Linked DNA regions of Homo sapiens: all the other regions are linked to region 1. Evidence: promoter capture Hi-C in 16 types of primary human blood cells and fetal thymus (Javierre and others, 2016). All regions are on one chromosome and are shown on one strand. Each heading gives the region's core, a stretch centred on a gene start or on the middle of the fragment in contact. The rest is flanking DNA. Distances are from core to core; before and after follow the strand shown. Region 1 holds the start of IL24 (interleukin 24). Region 2 overlaps CR2 (complement C3d receptor 2). Region 3 overlaps CR1 (complement C3b/C4b receptor 1 (Knops blood group)).

Region 1 (3,090 bases), core at 528-3,027:
TCTCATCACTGCCTCTTGACATCTTTATCTCATAGTAGTTAGTTAGGGGTTCTTGGTAATGCCCTAAATCCACATGGTGGGAAGGGGGGAGTGGGGGAAGAGAGTGCGCTGTGGGGCTGTGCCTACTTCTGGAGGGTAAGACTCGGGCCCTCCAGGAACAAAGGATTCAGGCTGGTGGCAGCTATAGCCAAGCAGACTGCTGGCCAGGGATTGCAAAGGAGTATTTTGTTTGCTTAAGAAAATAAACAACACTGAGTATGAGATGGAGGGAGGGGGTGTTGGTGCCAGAGAGATTGGGAAGAGTCTGCCAAGGGTGTGTTCTACTCACTCTCCTCTTTTCTTTCATCTCCACTGAGCTGGAGGCAGTTATCCTGTCCCCCACGTCACATTCCTACTCCCGTTTCCCATGCCTGGACCCAGGTTGGGCAAACTCTTCCTGTAAAGAACCAGACAGGAACTATTTTAGGCTCTGTGTGCCATATGGTCTCAGTCACAACTACTCATCTCTGCCTCTGTAGCACGAAAGCAATTAGCAACAATATGTCAACAAACATATGTGACCCCATGAAAACTTTATTTATTATGGATACGGAAACCTGAAAATAATGTCTTTCTTTTGATTTTTTCCCCAATCATTAAAAAACGTAAAAACTACTCTTAGGTCGCAAGGTTAAGCCATTCTCAGCTTAGCAGTGGCAGGCTGGATTTGGCTTGTGACCTACAGTTGGCCAATCCCTGATTCCCAAAATGTATTCCTCAGGGATGTGGGCAAATACTTATGGGAAATGCTGGATTAAACAGAGTTAAGAAGCATCAGACATTTCCAGGACGGGCTAGCACATGCCAGGGCTCTCTAACTGACCTCATTAGGATTCATCTGTTTCATGGAGGATCTTGCAAGACAAGAATTCCTCAAACCTAGAGTCTGAGGACTGTGCTTTGGGAAACACTGCTCTGCTTGATGCCCTCACTGGGCACATGGTAGAATCTAGAGCTGAGTGCCTTGCTAGCTGGAGATAGGGTCAGAGCTCTTGACTGCCCTGGCAGTCTTGACACATCACGCTGTCTGTGTCCCCTGAGTGGTTCAGAGCCACACAGGCCAAGACTAGCCCACCAGAGCACCAGGCCTCCCAGCTTTCTGGGCTTGTCCATGCGTACATTTCCTTATTCTTCCTGGTTTCCAGAACCTAAGGAGAGGCACATTTTGGTTGAGTGATTATAACCCTAGGGACCATGGGTAGCTGCATGTCAGGAAACACTCCTCAACTTCCTGGCCCTGATGGATTAAAGGAGAGGTACTTACAGGTTATTTCTTCGCTGTGGACTACTGTCCCAGCATGAATAGGGCATCATTATTGAATTATTTTGACAGGAAGGAGACTGGTGTATGCTGCACAGTAATAATGTATTTACATGTGTACAGAGTTTACCAAGCACCTCTGTGTTGTTTTTGCCTCTGTTTATTACACTTGCCCTTGGGGGGAGGTGGGACAAATTTTTTAAAAATTTATACATGCAGAGACTGCAGCGCAGAGAAGCTAAGAGACTTGCCCCTGCCCACACAGCCAGTGGTAGAGCCTGAACTCAAACCCAGGTCTCATCTCACCTCAGGGGCTGCTTTCCCCATCGCTGTATTGTCCTTAAAGTGATGGGTGACTAGGCAATGAAGTAATTCTCTAGGAAAGCATGACCAATTTCCCTTTCTCCACCTCCCTCTTTTTCCTCCACCCCTCCCCCATCAGCCCCCATATATATGCCCAAATCTCCACAAAGCCTTGCTTGCCTGCAAACCTTTACTTCTGAAATGACTTCCACGGCTGGGACGGGAACCTTCCACCCACAGCTATGCCTCTGATTGGTGAATGGTGAAGGTGCCTGTCTAACTTTTCTGTAAAAAGAACCAGCTGCCTCCAGGCAGCCAGCCCTCAAGCATCACTTACAGGACCAGAGGTGAGCATGGGGGATTCTTGGTTACTTTTTTTTGAAGGACTAGACCTCTGCTTTATTTGTGAAAAGGGGTCAAGGTGGGGACAGCAGAAGTCAATTTTTTTGAGTGTTGATGTAGGGACAAGACATGACTGTGATGAGGAGCTGCTTTCGCCAATTTAACACCAAGAAGAATTGAGGCTGCTTGGGAGGAAGGCCAGGAGGAACACGAGACTGAGAGATGAATTTTCAACAGAGGCTGCAAAGCCTGTGGACTTTAGCCAGGTGCGGTGGCTCACACCTGTAATCCCAGAACTTTGGGAGGCTGAGGTGGGCAGATCATTTAAGGTCAGGAGTTCGAGACCAGCCTGGCCAACATGGTGAAACCCTGTCTCTACTAAAAATACAAAAAAAAATTAGTTGGGCATGTGTTTTTGATATTTTCAGATACAAAAATCCCAGCTACTTGGGCGACTGAGGCATGAGCATCACTTGAACCTGGTAGGCAGAGGTTGCAGTGAGCCGAGATCATGCCACTGCACTCCAGCCTGGGTGACAGACTGAAATTCTGTCAAAAAAAAAAAAAAAAAAAAAAGCCTGTGGAGTTTGAAAGAACAGAATGAAAAGACATTGAGGGAGATGCTAAAGCATAGCCCCCGTCCCCCGTGACCCATAACCCAGGGGTCGCCGCCTCCCTAGCCCAGGTACCAGCAGAACCGGGTCTTCTCTGGTCTTCCTCCCGGTGTAGGGGTGGGAGGCAGTTTCTTTAGGTGTCAGACCAGTGCCTGCAGTAAGAAAGGTTCTTAAATGATTGTGTAAAGAAGTACGAAAGAAAGGGAGAAAGTAAGAAAGGGAGGGAGCGAGAGAGGAAAGAAGGAAGAAAGAAAGGTAAGGAGGGAGGGAGGGAGAGAGGGAGGGAAAGGACAAAGGGCAAAGAAGGCAGGGGGAAAGAAATTCTCTGCATCAGTTATAATAAATACATAATGGCGTTAGGTTCCCCAGCTTGGAGGCTCTTCACTCAGTCCTTCCCAACTGGCACTTCAGAGGAAGGCTTTAGAGATGATTCATCTGGAAATCTGATGCCTCTCTCTCATTTGGTTACTAAAAAAAGTGAATTTTTAGACTCAAGAGTGAGTGGTTAGTGGAGGTGGCATAGTCTGTGTG
Region 2 (3,055 bases), core at 405-2,904, 570 kb after region 1:
TTTACCTACATTTGAATATTTTCTCACCATGATCAGTATGCCTACCAAGTTCCTTTTCTACTTTTCAGGGATTTCTTGTGGCTCTCCTCCGCCTATCCTAAATGGCCGGATTAGTTATTATTCTACCCCCATTGCTGTTGGTACCGTGATAAGGTACAGTTGTTCAGGTACCTTCCGCCTCATTGGAGAAAAAAGTCTATTATGCATAACTAAAGACAAAGTGGATGGAACCTGGGATAAACCTGCTCCTAAATGTGAATATTTCAATAAATATTCTTCTTGCCCTGAGCCCATAGTACCAGGAGGATACAAAATTAGAGGCTCTACACCCTACAGACATGGTGATTCTGTGACATTTGCCTGTAAAACCAACTTCTCCATGAACGGAAACAAGTCTGTTTGGTGTCAAGCAAATAATATGTGGGGGCCGACACGACTACCAACCTGTGTAAGTGGTGAGTATGAAAAGAAAGCTGGGTTGGGAGGTTGGGGTCTTGCCTTTCTGTGCAGACCACGTTTTGTACCCTCCTGAAGGACAAACAGTGTGAACATGTAATGATGAGGGTGGAAGAAGGAAACAAGGGAAAAGGTGAAAGTTATGGCTTCTTCGTGGAGGCATATAACTGCTCGTTCAAAAAACATCAATTGAGCAAAGGAGTTTAAAGTACATGGAAAAATGTAATTAAACACACCTAATAATTGAGTAGGGTAAGTTTTGCAAGGATGGGGTCAGAGTTTGTTGGGGATGTGGGAATGGGGTGGTTTTCAACTGTATATCTGTGTTACTGTTAAAATGAGAAGAACGGTGGGATCTTATAGCAAAAATACACCCAATGGATTTGAAATTAATGTATAAGTAGCTGCTAACACAGTCTAGCACAGGTGATATCCTGCTCTCTGTGGTCTCTGTAAACATGTTTTGAAGTTATCCACTATTTCCCCAAGTCATCTTCTGAGCCATCACATTTCAAATAAATGCCTTTGAAAATAGGGACCTACTGTAAATTATTCATTCCTTCTCTTTTGGTTTGGTTTATGTTGCTGCTGAAATATAAATCTGAATTTGAATTCCACAATTACAAGAAATGGCAATATTTGACAAAAATTATACTATCAAATTAGGTATTTTCTTAATAAAGAACAATATTGACAAATTTTAAGCAGATTAAAGAGCTGACAAAACTGTTAAATTAGTATAAAATGGGATTCTGTTTATTGATTGATTGATTGATAAATAGCCTTGGAGGAAGGAGATCTTAACGATAGTTACAAAGGGCAATGGCTGCTGAAAACAGTTAAGCCTTTGTAACAATTTAGACAGACATATATGTATGGACATGGAAGGATATCGTATACATGTCGCTAAGTAGAGGAAGTAAGGCATAGAATATGTATTAGTTGTACACACACACATAATATAGGTGTATATATGTATCATGCATAGGATCCCAATAAACTATATTGCCAATATCTACCAGGATAGCCCTTGAAATGATAGCATGCTACTTTTGGAACAGAGAATAAGCTTAAGGATAGGGTGAGAATATAGGTGAAAATTGACTTTTTTTGGTAATTGAAATTTTTCACAAGGCAAATGTAATTCATATAGTGTAACTAAAAATGAAAAATAAGGTACTATTTATGGCTATTTGTGGCATAAAATGGATACACTTAAACCACACCTGTTTGATCTTTAAAAGACTAGGTTGAAAGTTAATACCAACTGGCTACCATAGATCATGTGTCATTTATTTAAATCCATATCCTAAGTCAGCATCTCGATCAAGCTTGTCCAACTCGCTACCCGTGGACAGCATGTGGCCCAGGATGGCTTTGAATGTGGCCCAACAGAAATTCATAAACTTTCTTAAACCATTATGAGATTTTTTTTTTGCAATTTTTTTAGCTTATCAGCTATCATTAGTGTTAGCGTATATTATGTGTGGCCCAAGACAATTTTTCTTCTTCCAATGTTGCCCAGGGAAGCCAAAAGATTGGACCCCCTTGATTCTAGATTGTGAAGGATGCATCATCTGACGGCTTTTTTTTCCTGGTATGTGTGTGTAAAGTTTTCCCTCTCGAGTGTCCAGCACTTCCTATGATCCACAATGGACATCACACAAGTGAGAATGTTGGCTCCATTGCTCCAGGATTGTCTGTGACTTACAGCTGTGAATCTGGTTACTTGCTTGTTGGAGAAAAGATCATTAACTGTTTGTCTTCGGGAAAATGGAGTGCTGTCCCCCCCACATGTGAAGGTACCCTAAATTTACAATCTATTTTAAGAATCTGGGCTGTTCTGTTATTTGCCATGCATTTCTCATCTTTGGTTTGTTTTTTAGAGGCACGCTGTAAATCTCTAGGACGATTTCCCAATGGGAAGGTAAAGGAGCCTCCAATTCTCCGGGTTGGTGTAACTGCAAACTTTTTCTGTGATGAAGGGTGAGTGTCAGGATTATTTATGAGATTTAATTCATTTGTCTTGTGTGTGCGTGGTGTGGACTGTGAAACCTGCAGAAGTCTCCTCTGTGAGGATCTCTGGGCAGTCTGGGGTAGGGTTGTGAGAGGTAATGCTGATAAAAGGAACAGATGCACACTGATTGAAATGAACTTGTCTTGAATTGTAAGTAGAGGCTGCTGTTCTTCAGCACAAACTGCCTAATAGTTCTGAATGACAACCTTCTGTCTCCAGGTATCGACTGCAAGGCCCACCTTCTAGTCGGTGTGTAATTGCTGGACAGGGAGTTGCTTGGACCAAAATGCCAGTATGTGAAGGTAGGCTAGGCAACTATGGTCTGACAGCACTGCATTCTCAGCTTAACTAAAAGCTTTTGGTTCAGTCATTACCTTACAGACTCTTACTGAACACAGAACTCCTAGAGATCTTTAAGGATATGTGCTTCACCAAAGCATCCTTATTTTTTGTTTCCTCAAGTAAAATGGGGTTCCTAGGCTTTCCCTCCTCTGAAAGCTATGCAGACCTTCTAAGTAGGTAGACCATATGCATAAAGAAAATAGTGTATTTGGTAAAAGAAATCAAAGGATCAGCAGAGTA
Region 3 (3,284 bases), core at 675-3,174, 600 kb after region 1:
GGATCTGGTTTGGTTATCCCTGCTAGGTAAAGGTGCAAGATAGAAGGGAAGTTCCAATTTGCTTTCTGTGCTTTGTGGTGTATTTTGGTTTACATATGCTCAGATGAGTGGATGTGTGATTTATATTATCTATTTTAATCTAAAATAAGCTTCACATTTGGACAGGTAACATCAAAAGTGTCCTACACAGAAATGCTGGGTGAAGATCCCAGTAATAAAACCAACTCCAGAAAACAAGAAAATGGTAGAGTTGACAATCCCTCTCACCCTCTCCGCAAAGACACATGTATACACATTTTTTGTCAGAGGCATTAAGTAGAAGAAATGCTGTCAGTCTAATCACAACTGATCACAACTCGATGAAACCAAAAAACCTAGAAAGTATCATGAAGACTGTCGAAATAAGCTTTACATTCACTATTGTGAACAGAGAGACTCAATGTGACTGTTTTTTGTCCCGTTAGATGTTAGCTAATGATTGTGCTAAGTCATGATGATTAACAAAGCATTTAAAATATTTATTTTATCTGTGTTACATTTCAAAAATTTATATTGAGGCATATAATTTATGTTCGTGTACATATATAATTTATAAATTTATATATTTGAAAGGGCATGCTCTTTTTTTAAACTGATAGAGGTGCCTAAGCAAAGCAAGTGCAAATCTATTCCTTAAAGGGTAAGTATGCAGAATGGAAAGCAGAGTGTTCTTTGGGTTGACAGCTCATATTGCAACAGACATGAAAGTGATGATGTGTTAATTGTGCATATAGCACAGAATACATCAACTTGCTTTGAATGGAATATCTGAACCAGGAGAATGTGAAAGTGGGCTGAGTCATACAAGACAAAACCCGAAATGAGATAACAATACATACCCACTAGAATGACTAAAATGAAAAAGATTGACCGAGCCAAGTGTTGGCGATAAGGTGGAGTAACTGGAATTATAATATACTGCTATTTGGCAGGTAAAATTATAACATTAACTTTAGAAAATAGTTCAACAGATTCTTAAAACCTTAGACACACACTCAACATTTTACTCTTAGGTTTTTACCCAAGAGAAATGAAATCATATGTCCACACAAAGACTTGTACATGAATTTTCATAGCAGTTTTGTTTGTAATAGCCAACACGTGGAAACAATCCAAATGTCCCTCAACAAGTAAATGGATAAACTAAATTAAGATATATTTATGCAATTGAATATTACCCAGCAACTAAAGGAAACAATTTGTATACATGCAGCAACCTAGATGGATCTCTAATTATGCTGTGTGAAGGCTAAACCATAAAAAAAAACCTGAGTGATTTCCTTTATACAATAGGATATAAATGAAGTGATTTAGGTTATATGAAATTTTAGAAAGTCAAATCAATCTGTAGTAAGAGAAAACCACCTGAGTTATTTCCTTTATATGATAGGATATAAACGAAGTGATTCGGGTTATATGAAATTTTAGAAAGTCAGATCAATCTGTAGTAAGAGAAAACACATTGAAGGTTGCCTAGAGAAGGAAGTGGATGTTTGGATGGATTACAGAAGGGCATGAGGGAACTCTGTGTGGGTGGGATGTATGATGGAAACGTTTATTGTCTTCATTTTGGTGATGGTTTCACAACGCATACATATGTTATAAGTAATCGAATTGTACACTTCAAATACTCATCAATCATTGTATGTAATATATCTTGATAAAGCTATAAAAACTTTTAAAATTATGGTAGGTCTTCAGTTTGTGGATTTTATATTAATATATTTGTCATAGGAACTAGTCACAATTGAGGGATTGGTAATAAAGGAGAGAAAGGAAACTACATCAAGCTTTCTTTGTTGAAGGCTCATATATTCCTTTTTTGAGCTATTATACAACTTTGCTTTTTATAATTACCTATACTATTCATATACTACTATGCAGGTAAGAATATTATGTAATTAAGGGGAAGGAACTTCTTTCCAAGAATGGTTCATTCAATTTGCTTTGTTACTTTAGGTCTCATTCCTTCCTCTCGTTGCAAGCTTTGCTGTGACATTTACCCTCTCTCAATACAGCTTTTGGCGCTAGGCACTTCACATGGAATCTCTTCCTTTGTCCGGCATCAATGGATAAGACAAATATCAAAATTGTATTTCATCCCACATATCAACTAGAGGAAAGGTGAATGCATAACACTGAAAATAACAGCAACTGTTTTACTCAGTGTTTTTTTTTTTTACAGTATCCTCAAAGTGCTGTTATCTATCAAAATCAGCTGTGAAAATTTTTAAAAATAGACTCCTGGGCCCTAACCTAGACCCACTAAATCAGAGATTTGGGGGACATAGCTTGGATTCTTGATTTTTTTGAGTTTTATAAGTAATTCTTCATTTTTTGTTCATTGCAACAAATATGCATTGAGTTCTTATAATTGAGTGTTAAGCACCAGGACTAAGTATTAATTTAGAGGTACAAAAAAACACATCATCTCTTGCCTTTAAATTATGCATATCTAATATCTATTGAGAGAAATAGATACTTCTAAAAGCACACAAAGATAAAAAGCACAAATTGTAATAACAAACAATTATTGATATGAAAGGAAAAGCAAAGTGTCGGACTAGAAATTATTATAGGGTGGGGCAGAGGGAAGTAGTTTAGATTCCAAATCCCTAAGAGGGTCAGGGAAGGCTTCAGATGAGATTGGGTGTGTTCAGGGTGGTATGGCCATAGGCAGGCTGGGGAAGGCTTCTATAAGAAAGTGACATTTTAGCAGATGCCTGAAGGAAGAATTGAAGTCAGAGTGAAGATAAAATTGCGTCACATAGAAGGAATGTCATAGACGGGAAAAATGTGTGTCTTTGGGAAACTGAAAAAGGGGAAAGGGCCACACCTTGGTGAGGGGACCAAGTGGCACAAGATGAGGCAGGGAACATAGACAAGGGCTTCCTTGCTTAACAACTGCTGGCTTAATAAAGCAAATGTGTGATGATGGATACAGGCTGTCTGGGAAAAATAAGTAAGAAATATGAGCTTTCTTGGAGCATCATCCTTTGCTTCAGTAGAAAGCACAGAGTTAGGCTTCCAATTCTGACTAAAGCCATTGACAACAGGGAAAAGGCAACCTTAGGAATTCTCCTCTCTGTCCGGGGTCCCGTGGGCACTATGATGGAGCTCATGAGATGCAGATGAGAAGTCCCAGGCTGAATCCGGGGCACATTCACTCAGGAGAGCTGAGGTCACCAGTCACTGAGGTCATCCAGTGCATTCCCGACAGCATAGGCTCATTCCAAGCTAGTTCT

What was found. Contacts are between HindIII fragments. The CHiCAGO score rates a contact against its expected background, and 5 or more counts as called.
Region 2: a contact is called between a fragment that was not itself captured here and the fragment with the promoter of IL24 in region 1, in 1 of 17 cell types (endothelial precursors). The highest score is 5.1, in endothelial precursors.
Region 3: a fragment that was not itself captured here is called in contact with the fragment with the promoter of IL24 in region 1 in 2 of 17 cell types (naive B cells and endothelial precursors); the score reaches 6.1 in naive B cells.

The regions. Positions count from the first base shown.
Region 1 is chr1:206,895,666-206,898,755 of GRCh38, forward strand. IL24 (interleukin 24) reads left to right here and starts at 1,778. Exons shown (of 7, transcript NM_006850.3): 1 at 1,778-1,950; 2 at 2,066-2,211. The coding sequence starts at 2,168. LOC105372879 (a long non-coding RNA gene) reads right to left here and starts at 453. Exons shown (of 2, transcript XR_007066836.1): 1 at 329-453. The HindIII fragment of the contact is 4,835 bases long and covers 1-3,090 here.
Region 2 is chr1:207,466,458-207,469,512 of GRCh38, forward strand. CR2 (complement C3d receptor 2) reads left to right here. Exons shown (of 20, transcript NM_001006658.3): 2 at 69-455; 3 at 2,070-2,258; 4 at 2,343-2,442; 5 at 2,693-2,775. Among named protein-coding and RNA genes, the nearest start is that of CR2, 14 kb to the left of the region's middle. RefSeq lists an enhancer at 2,820-3,055. The HindIII fragment of the contact is 262 bases long and covers 1,524-1,785 here.
Region 3 is chr1:207,499,711-207,502,994 of GRCh38, forward strand. All of the region lies in intron 1 of CR1 (complement C3b/C4b receptor 1 (Knops blood group)), which reads left to right. Among named protein-coding and RNA genes, the nearest start is that of CR1, 5.2 kb to the left of the region's middle. The HindIII fragment of the contact is 195 bases long and covers 1,828-2,022 here.